Regions from separate parts of the Homo sapiens genome. Here region 1 is linked to region 2. The links are contacts of gene promoters, found by promoter capture Hi-C in blood cells and fetal thymus (Javierre and others, 2016). All regions are on one chromosome and are shown on one strand. The core of a region is centred on a gene start or on the middle of the fragment in contact, and the rest is flanking DNA. Distances in the headings are between cores, read along the strand shown.

The links. The method cuts DNA at HindIII sites, captures the fragments that hold promoters and counts their contacts. A CHiCAGO score of 5 or more calls a contact.
Region 1: a contact is called between a fragment that was not itself captured here and the fragment with the promoter of LATS1 in region 2, in 2 of 17 cell types (naive CD4 T cells and naive CD8 T cells). The highest score is 8.7, in naive CD4 T cells.

Annotation. Positions count from the first base shown.
Region 1 is chr6:149,062,335-149,067,621 of GRCh38, reverse strand. The region is part of intron 7 of UST (uronyl 2-sulfotransferase); the gene reads right to left. Among named protein-coding and RNA genes, the nearest start is that of UST-AS2, 32 kb to the right of the region's middle. RefSeq lists enhancers at 1,221-1,630, 1,651-1,730. The HindIII fragment of the contact is 4,566 bases long and covers 925-5,287 here.
Region 2 is chr6:149,715,104-149,720,169 of GRCh38, reverse strand. LATS1 (large tumor suppressor kinase 1) reads left to right here and starts at 2,069. Exons shown (of 8, transcript NM_004690.4): 1 at 2,069-2,321. It overlaps LOC645967 (a long non-coding RNA gene), which reads right to left and starts at 2,549. Exons shown (of 1, transcript NR_134652.1): 1 at 1,274-2,549. RefSeq lists a silencer at 2,190-2,579. The HindIII fragment of the contact is 4,826 bases long and covers 1-3,326 here.

The sequences.
Region 1 (5,287 bases), core at 1,958-4,457, 650 kb after region 2:
CCTTACCAGCCTGACAAAAGTGCTTTGGCTATTTGATAGTGCTAGTCAGAACATGAGGAGGCCCAGCCCTATGTTTGCTAGAACACTCCACAGAGAGGACAGACTTTTAAGACAAGAGGGAAGGGGGACTTTTTCATGTTTGGCTACAAGGCAAGAGCTTTAAAAGATCCTTTCTTGAATAGTTAAGGATCCAGGGAGGGTGACCGCCAAATATGGCAACTTGGTATGGCGATATTTCAAATTGAAGGCCATTGGAGACCAGTACATCCTGGATGAAGCTGTTCTCTGAAGTTCCCTTATCTACCTAGAAATTGGACCTGCCAAAGAGGAACAAAATTGCCTTCAGTCACCTCCCCTAAAATTTCATTAATCAGAGAAGATCAAAACTCATGTCACAGAGGAAGGGACTGAAGATTAAACACCACACTCAGAGCTCAGATGAACGTTGTCCCAAACTATTGCCTGTTCTTGGGTCCCATTCAGTTCCCAAAGAGAATTATTTACCTTCCATTGTCTGAGCATTGGGCCCATTCATTCCCCTTAAATATCATTTACTACTCTTCAAAATTGCCACATTTAACCTCCATTTCCCCTTTCCCTATGAAGAAAGGTATAGAAAAAAGCTGGACCTCCCTGGGTTATGAGGTAACCACTCTCCTGTGATTTTCTCCTGTGTAGCATTTTATTTTTAAGAGGTAGGGTCTTGCTCTGTTGCCCAGGCTAGAGTGCAGTGGTGGCTCACTGCAGCCTCAAACTCCTGGGCTCAAGCGATCCTCCCCTCAACCTCCTGAGTATTTGGGACTACAGGAGTGAGCTACCATGCTCAGTTTCATGCATATTAATAAATTTTATTCCTTTTTTTCCTGTTAATCTGCCTATTGTAAGTTCATTTTCAAGTAAGCTTCAGAGGGTGGAGGAGAAGCTTTTCCTGTTACCCCTCCAATAACAACAGATTGTCTCGTGTATTTCAGTTACTTCAGTCTTCCTTACTCTTCTTAATCCCTCCCTAAATCCCCCGTCTAAACATGAGGGTCAGTATCAGCTGGTTTGGCAGATTCTTATGGGATCTAATGTTTCCCCAAGCTCTAGTTTTGCATTAATATCCAATTCTTGCTTCATTTGTCTACCCACCCTGCCTCCTTGGAGTTTCCTTCTCTCCCTCATCCACCCCCTCTTCTTCATTGTCAACCTCTCCCTCTCAACTGGCTCCTTGCCATCAAAACTCACTTCCCTTCTTGAAAAAACCCTTGTCTCATGCACCCTCCCTCTTTCATCTTTTCTCTCTCCTCCCCATCACAGCCCAACTTCCTGAAGAGCTGTCTACATTTGTTGTAACATTTTCAGCTTACGTACGTGACTGAACTCACCAAAACCTGCTTTCTGTTCCTTCTGTACTCCATTCAGTTACTCTCGCTTCCTTGTTGGTAGCTCAGAGGGCGCCTCACAGCATGACCCCATCACACTGTGGGCCACACACTCCATTTTGAAACCCCTGCATCTGCAACAGTGTTTTCCTGGCACCCTCACCTCTCTCTGATCACTCCCTTTCCATCTTCTCTACGCCCTCCTCTTTCCCAGCCTGTCTTATAAAGACCAGTCCTCCTCAGGCTCTGTTCCAGCCTCTTCCCTTCTCCCTGGTTACTCCCTGGGTGGCAGCATCCAACCCTCTATCCTTTAGTCCTCATAGCACTGTGAACAACAAAATGAACAGTTTATATAAACAATGACAGCTTTTTTGACCTTCGTTTTCCACAGAGCTGCCAAATTTAATAAGGTTAATGACATTGCCAGAGGGTTATGTCGCGGTCAGAAACAGGAGTGCTATTTTGTGCCAGGAGAAACAGAGACTCAGATTCAACCAATATTGATGGGGAACACCCATTATGAGTTTGGATCATCATATACATTATTTTATTTGATATTCTCAATAACCCTGTGAGGTGAATATCATGACCCCTCTTTTGCAGATGGAGAAATAGAAACTTACCCAAGGTCACATAGCTGGCTGGTAAGTGAAAAAACGAATTTGAATCTGGGTCCCCATCTATGTTGAGATTTTTCCCTAACTTTAAGTACTGCACCATAACCAGGGCAGCTTTCATGAGCCTGTAGAAAACTATCACCTTCATATGGAAAGACCAGAGGTGGTTTGTCTTGTATAATAAGCAGAGAATTCTTAAAAATCTCATTTCAAAGACATATGGATGTGTGTCTTGCTGTACGATAATCGGTGCTATGGAAAAGTCATTCCATTGCTAAGTTTTCCACATTTTTGTAAAATGCCAGACTTTCCATCCAAACAAAACAAAGCTACATGGACTATGGAATCAGCCTCTCTCCAGACTGCCATAATAGCAGCTCTAGAGGAAGTTGTTAGGATTTTTTTTCAAATAATTGTTGTTATTTCAGCCACAAAACAATTATGCTTTAAAAATCTATACTTATTAGTAGCATTCCTTGGGAAGGGAAGAAGCCCTCGTTAGGTGAGCACATACTGTCGGATTAACCATGAAGAAGTGAAGACCTCACTCCATGAGCGTTCTCTGATCCTAGCAGGAACTGAGAGTAACTTCAAGGGGCTCATGTCTCTTGTGCCCACTGATAAACATTTTAAAAGAAAGAGACGAATACAGAGCTCCTCCCTTTAAGACAGGGTGGCAAAAAGGCAGCCCAAGATCGGACTGGCAGGCAATGTGTTGTTTGGCCCGTGGGGTATTTTTTTTTTTTTAGAAATGGATTCAGTTGTTGTAAGGCTTGGTCTATTTCACATGGAAAGCTGGATTTCTGGCTTTTCTCAAAGGGCGGCTACATTCTTCTGGAGCCAAGTGTGACTGCCCCCGTGAAAGAGGCCAGGGCTTTCCAGTTTGCCTCAGACTCTAAATGCCGGTTCATTCTTTTATGTTACCTGACTGGCTGTTATAGAAAGTCGAGTTTTATGCTTCTGCTTTAAAGATTCTAAAATTCAGGCTTTCATAAACCTAGAGAGTAAGTGCTTCTCGTCAAAATCAAGGCTTCAATTAGGCCTCACTGGTGTGCCCAATATCATCTTCCTTCCCTCTTTCTGCAAAGATTTGTTGAATAGCTATTCTGCACCACGCACAGGAATTGTTGCAGTGAATGGGGCATCATCATCATCACCATCATCATCATCATCAGTTGGCACTTTGAGAGCTTTCTCTGTGCCAAGAATTGTAAGATATCTAAACACACATTTAATCCTTATAAAGCTCCCAGTGCTGTAGAGGTCTCTTATTATCACCATTTAAAGCTGTGGCATTGGAATTTAGAAGTTTGTGCAGGCTCACACAGCTGGTAAGTGGTGAAGCCCGAAGTTGGGTGTGGGGAAGTCTGACTAATGAGCCCAGGTTCTTAACTCTCCACATTGCTGACGAGTGGATGGAGCTCACAGTCTAAGGGAGATGCCTGCTCACAAGGCTTGTCACCATGGGGGCAGAGAGGGCATCTCACTCTGATTCATTTGCTGGAGTCAACATTTCTTCTGTTTGGTCAGAAATCCTCACCAGGGAGACCAGGCTTATTGGGCTTATCTTAAATACTCTGCATGGAGTTGGGTCTTTCATACTTACTACAAGATCATGAAGATTTGCCGTATGTGCTGTGTGTGCACGTCTGAGAGTATAGATTCTGTGTGTGTTTCAATCAAGAGATGGAAAACTTTTAGGAGGCCTCTGAGGCACTATCCACCTCCTAAAAAATTTTCTCTAGATTTTATTCTTAACATCTCCACCAGGTTTCATTTAGCTGTTCTTCCAAAGAGGCTTTTTATACTGAGTGATCAGGACAAAAGCGATACCCCATTTATCTTTGTATTTCCACAGCTCAGCACCTGGGGAAACACAGTTCTCCTCTGTACAGGCTTCTTGAGGGAACAAAAGAAACCATCAGAAGGACGAGGGTGCTGTCAGATTCAAGGAAGGCTTGGCTGTGTCTGTGAGATGGAGACAGACAGCTGGGCACAAAGGCAGTATCTGAAGGAGTTTCACAGAAATTCCTAGGAGACCCACAAATGCTGGGTCCTTAGCGAGAAGCAGTCTACCCTCCCATCTGGCTGGGGTCTGTACATTTCAGTGTTTAACTTTGTGGTTTGGTTGCCTTTTGGGACCAATAGTGCTGGCAAGGCACATTTTTCTGCCTCTCTACTTTAATTCATCAATACTTTTTGGCAAAAAGAAGCTGTGGCTTCAGGATGTTTTTGATATTTTTTTAAAAAGTTTTTTCTTATTACCTTTAGGGATTGGTCAAATAATTCCCTTAGTTAATTTTATGATAACTATTGAAAATTTCCTCAAAATAGGCACTGGTTTTGAGCTATGAAGTGTTCAGAAGAGGGAAAACAAAGTAAAAAAACAAACTTTGAGCTTTCTATTTAAAGAACACAATAGAGATTGTTTTTTCTTTATAGACATGTCCAATCAGCCATAGAGTCAGGGCCACAGGGGGATAGACTTCCAGGCTCTGCGCTGTCCCTGGGGAGGGAGTGGCAGGGACACTACAGAGTAGTTACGGTCCTGAGTGGAGATTCTTCTAACAGCTGGCCCCCAGTGACATAAAAATCTGTAGTTGGCCACCCAATGTTGGTAGAGAATAAAACCTGGCATGAGGCCAGGAGGGGGCTGCTTTCTGTATTATTAAAACTTTACAAATAGTAGCCCGAACAGTGCAACTTCTCATACAAGTCCTGCAGAGAAGCACATCCCTCTCATTTTCATAGGGCTCTGTGGATTAATGCGCTTTCACATCGCCCCTCACTACCTTGCTCAATCTTCCCAGTACCCATTTTACTTACAGATACCAAGGGCCCCAGAGGTCACAAGACCAGCTCAAGGCTGTACAGCCAGGACATTTCAGTCCAAGCACTGGAAAGTGGGCTTTCTGATTCTCAGCCTTGCACCTTTTTGCTACACCACAGGCTGTTAATTTCCAAATTGAGTGGAAATCTATAACCACCCACTTCTCCTTGCCCTGTGTGTATTCTGGCATTCAGGGAATCCATTGAAAAGAAGGGCTTGAGTGTTCTAAGATGAGGGGAATGCTTTGGTAAGTCTGGGAGGATCTGGTGAAAAACTTGCAAGCCAGCAAAAATGTTTTCACACTGAAAGGGACTGTGTCTTTTTCATTTTTAGTTCCCCAGTGTCCAGCTCCATGCCTGGCACCTAACCACCCTCCATAAATGTTTGTTGATTTGAAACCTGTATTTTAAATCCATCTGCAAGACTGGATTAACCCAAAGGGCAACTTTCAGTGTTGACTATGCATACTTCACTTT
Region 2 (5,066 bases), core at 820-3,319:
TTTTTTGGGGACAGAGTCTGGCTGGATTCTCCACTTTCAAGAAGATGGAGCACAACTCCCCATTCCTTAAGAGTGGGTGGCACATAGTCTGGTGTCTTCCCCTAAGATCGTATGAATTTCTGGAAGGGTTTATGTTCTCAGGGCCACACTGGTCTCCAGACTTCTTCCATGTACACTGCCCCCTAATTCCTTTCTAAGGTCACACAAGCATGAAATCGGATTCTACATCTATTGCTAAAAACAAGCCCCATTTCCATGAAGCACTGAAGAATTGAGTAGGCTGAAACTGGACCAAGATCTTCCATCACAATAATATAAAAACCTGCAAATGTGATGGCAGGTATCACCATTCCCACACATCCAGCACCCACAGTAAGTATTTCCCCAACCATCATCACTCTCCGCACCTACAGTCCCCAATGCTTTGCATCTCGTCAGTTCTCTTCCTGATCATTCCACCTCTGCTTTCCCTGCTCTTTTATCTCTCGCCCTACTTCACAGGAGTAAGCCTCCTAGTCCTACACAGAGCAATTTACTCAGCTCCCTGAATTATCTAGGAATTTCCCCAAAGACTAGAGTTTGTGGAGATACTTTCCTTTAGGTTTAGAGAGCATTGAGGAGCTTAAGTACCATGGGTTGATGACAGACGTGACAGGATTCTGGGGGCAGTCTGCCCTTCCAGATGCATAATCCTTTTGGATAGGGCAAGCAGACCTGTGGACATATTAGATTCCTATAATTCATATAATTTTAGGGCTGAAAAGGTCTTTATGGGGCACCCTTACGTTGAAGAAAGTAAGCCCTGGGGCTCTTTAGTGACCCACCTTGGGTCACATTGCCTTCTACAAACTCTGTGCTTGTAGAAAATAGACTTTCAACCAAATGTTCTTGGAACATAATCTTTTTTTTTTTTTTTTTTTTTTTGAGACGGAGTCTCGCTCTGTCGTCCAGGCTGGAGTGCGGTGGCGCGATCTCGGCTCAATGCAAGCTCCGCCTCCCGGGTTCCTGCCATTCTCCTGCCTCAGCCTCCCGAGTAGCTAGGACTACAGGCGCCCGCCACCACGCCGGGCAAATTTTTCTGGATTTTTTAGCAGAGACGGGGTTTCACCGTGTTAGGCAGGATGTTCTCGATCTCCTGACCTCGTGATCCGCCCGCCTCGGCCTCCCAAAGTGCTGGGATTACAGGCGTGAGACACCGCGCCCGTCCGGAACATAATCTTTTAACGGGTTTTCACATTTGGATTTCTAGATACAGTAAGTAGCCAGTTATTACTTTAACGTCAGAAAAAGATGTCTTTAATTTTTTTGTACTCTGTAGTAGAAAAATTACGAAAGAAGGTACTTGAAAACACTAACTGTATATTTCCTAGAGGAAAAACTGGCAAAGGCGATCTTCACAAAGGGTGGACCGTACCTTATACATCAAACCCAACGATCCCATCCCACACTTTACATTCAGCTTAACCAGAAGTAAAACCTCTTGTCACACCGTCACCGGTATTCCAATTATGGCAATAACGATCTCCTTCTACGGATGCGGTTGACAGATAAGATCTCTAAACCGCTGCTAATCAATCGGTCCTGGCTCAAGCATTTCTTATCTGCCGGATTCAGAAAATACAGATGCTGGAAGCTCACCGGCTTGTTCGGGGAAAGAACGCTAAGCAAGAATAAAATTTTATTTCAAAGCGCCAAAAATCTGGAATTCTGAGGTCCACAGGGAGGTTTCCCAGAGCAACTCAGTTGTTCCCTTCTGAGAACGTAGCTCCGTGAAATGCACATCCCTACTCGGTCCAGAGAAATAGATCAATGGGGAAAAGGATTGAATCAACCAAGTAGGCTGGGCGGGAGACAGCCTTAACCCACGGGCGCGGGCGAGTCGTATGGGCAGGGGCAGGCGGGAGCGACGTGGGGCGACGCTCACGAACGATCAGAGCTGCGGGCGACGCAACGAAGCCCGGAGGCCGCAGGCTGCGCGCTCCCTCGCAGCAGCCGGGCGGGCAAAAGCCCCCAGTCCTCGGCCCCCGCGCAAGCGACGCCGGGAAATGCCCACATCCGGGAAACCTGCAGCGGAGTGCGGCGGCGGCGACACTGAGTGGAAGGCAAAATGGCGGCGGCGGCGGCGGTGGCCTGGTGTTAAGGGGAGAGCCAGGTCCTCACGACCCCTGGGACGGGCCGCGCTGGCCCGCGGCAGCCCCCCCGTTCGTCTCCCCGCTCTGCCCCACCAGGGATACTTGGGGTTGCTGGGACGGACTCTGGCCGCCTCAGCGTCCGCCCTCAGGCCCGTGGCCGCTGTCCAGGAGCTCTGCTCTCCCCTCCAGGTAGGTCCGGGGCTGGCGTAGCGGGTGCGCTCCTCCAGTGCTCGAGTTGGCGGGGCGGTGGCCGCCGGGGCCCACGCCCATCCCCGCTGGCGAGGGTCCAGAGGTTTGGACTGGCGGGCAGAGCCGGCCCGCTCCGGGCCTGACTTGGCTGGTTGCATTGACCCGAGCTGAGCCCTGCCCTGGGGAAGCGAGGGTTGGCCGCGCCCGGTGCTGCAGGAAGAGCCCCAGGCTTTTCGGCCTCGGAGGTGCAGGTTTGGCTGGGTAGAGCCTGTCTTTCTGGCGGCGTGTCTCCCACCCCACCCCCAACACGCGAGTCGGCGGTGTCCAGGAGGGAAGGAACGGGAAAGGTGGTTCTGAAGGAAAATTGCAGTAAAAGAGCTACAGTTCTTTGGATCCCAGAGGGCCTTGATCCTGGGTATACCTTAGAGAAATCCTGGGAGTCTCTTACGTCTAGTTCAGTGTGATTTTAGGTTACTGTTCATAGTTGGAAGAGGTGGGAGAGATGGAGAGGTCTTTATGGAGTAGGAGTGTGTATATAAATACAGCAAATGAAGGAACGACAATTAAGGGAACAGTGTTTTTTATAACCTGAAATAGCTTGTAGCTCAATGAATGCCTCAGATGACTTGATTTATCCCCATTCTGACTTCTCTGTCAATTTCTAAGGGAACAAAATTTAATGTTTGTCAACTCATATGTTAATACGGCTTTTAAAACATGTATCATCCTCCAGAAGTTATTCATAAATCTAGTGAACAATAAGTATAATCTCATGCACAGAAGTAATATTGTATAACTCCAGTTTTGGAAATGGATTTGAATGTTAGCGATCATGAAACTTGTTTGAACTTTATGAATTATTTATTGAAGGTTAATAAATTTATCAGTTTATCAGTTTATCAGAAGTTTCTGATAAACTTAATTTTTTATCAAATTTCCTCCATGAGGAAGAAAAGGTAGGACATTATAATTGGAGTGAATGTTCTGTGCTACGAAAACAAAGCTTATTATCTCTGACGGTAAAATGGGGTAGTTGATTCCTTAAGGCAGTGGAGGAATTTGATTGAACAGTAAAAGAAGTAGCATTGTGTTAGTCCAATTGGCTGCTACTGCAAGAAACTAGATCATGGTCCATGCTTGGAATGGCACATTCTATGCCTAAATATTGATGGAATATGCCTTGCTGCTCACCAAAAAATACTTCTACTACATTTTTAATGTATAATATCTGGCTTTCATTGTGTAGGTCGTTTTTATTTTTGTTTTGTTTTTATTGCAAGTCCTTGTTCTATATAAATAGTGTTGGAACTGTTCTAACCCTGGTTATTTGGTTATTTTAGATGTTTTATTTACATCAATGGGAGATTGTTATACATCACAAAAGTTATTTAGTCATTGAATAACATTTTCGCTAAGTAGGAACAGCAATCATTTTTCAGCATGAAGATACAGCGTTGCTTTCACTTTTGATCTGACAATTATTAGAAAGTGAACTGAAGAAAATGTCAGTATGCAGTTTCCTTTAAAGATGGGAACTCGCTATGTTGCCTGCGCTGGATTCCAACTCCTGGACTCGAGCAATCCTCCCACCACAGCCTCTCAAGTAGCTGGGACTACAGGTGCACTACTGCACCCAGCCAGGGTACCTTTCTGATAAACTTAATTCAACCCAAATTAACACTTTGAAATCTTATGTAATGGTATCATTTTTTTTTTCCTAAGTTGGACAAACTAATCAATGATACTTGTTTGTTGATGTTTGTATTTTTGATGAGGGTCTGAACTTTAAAAAAAAAAAAATGGCGATCTGTCATACCCAGGCAGTTTGATTCCAGAGCTCTTACTTTAACCATGAGATTAAAGTCATTGAAAGTTATGGGGTAGGTAGGTGACATGATCAGAATTGTTTATTAAGACGAATCTGGCCCCATCGTAGTGTGGGTTAAAAAGGTAAGCAGTTTTGCTTTGAAGAATTATTTTAAAAATTCTTTTTGCCTAGTAATAATTTGAATTTTCACATGTCATAGCAGCAAAGATTGTTGAGATTTAGTAATGCCAGTATTAACCATACCTTGTTGTGGGGATTATAAAATTAGTATAACTTTCTAGAAGGCATTCTGACAATAAGTATCAGAATTTTAAATATGTATTCTCTTTGATCCAGCAATTCCACTTCTGGGAATTTATTTTAAGAAAAATGCTCAGCAATGTGTGCACAAGAATTTTTATTGCAGCAATTTTTTTATTAACTAATTTCGTTATGTGCAAGGAATATGCTATATGTATATTATACATATGTTCATTTTATTAAACTATGAGGCATAATAAAATGAACATCCATGAACTTACCACCTGAACTCAGAACAAGAATATTACCAGTATAATTGAAGTTACCAGTTTGCAGTATTATTTTACATTAGCAAAAAAATGAGGAACAACCTAAATGTCCATCAGTCAGGGATTTATAAGTAATAGTACATCTAGCCGGGCGCAGTGGCTCACGCCTGTAACCAGCACTTTGGGAGGCCAAGGAGGGCGGATTACCTGAGGTCTGGAGTTCGAGACCAGCCTGGCCAACATGGTGAAACCCCATCTCTACTAAAAATACAAAAATTAGCTCGGTGTGGTAGCGCGGGTCTGTAGTCCCAGCTACTTGTAAGGCTGAGGCAGGAGAATCACTTGAACCCGAGAGACGGAGGTTGCAGTGAGCTGAGATGGCACCACGGCACTCCAGCCTGCGACAGT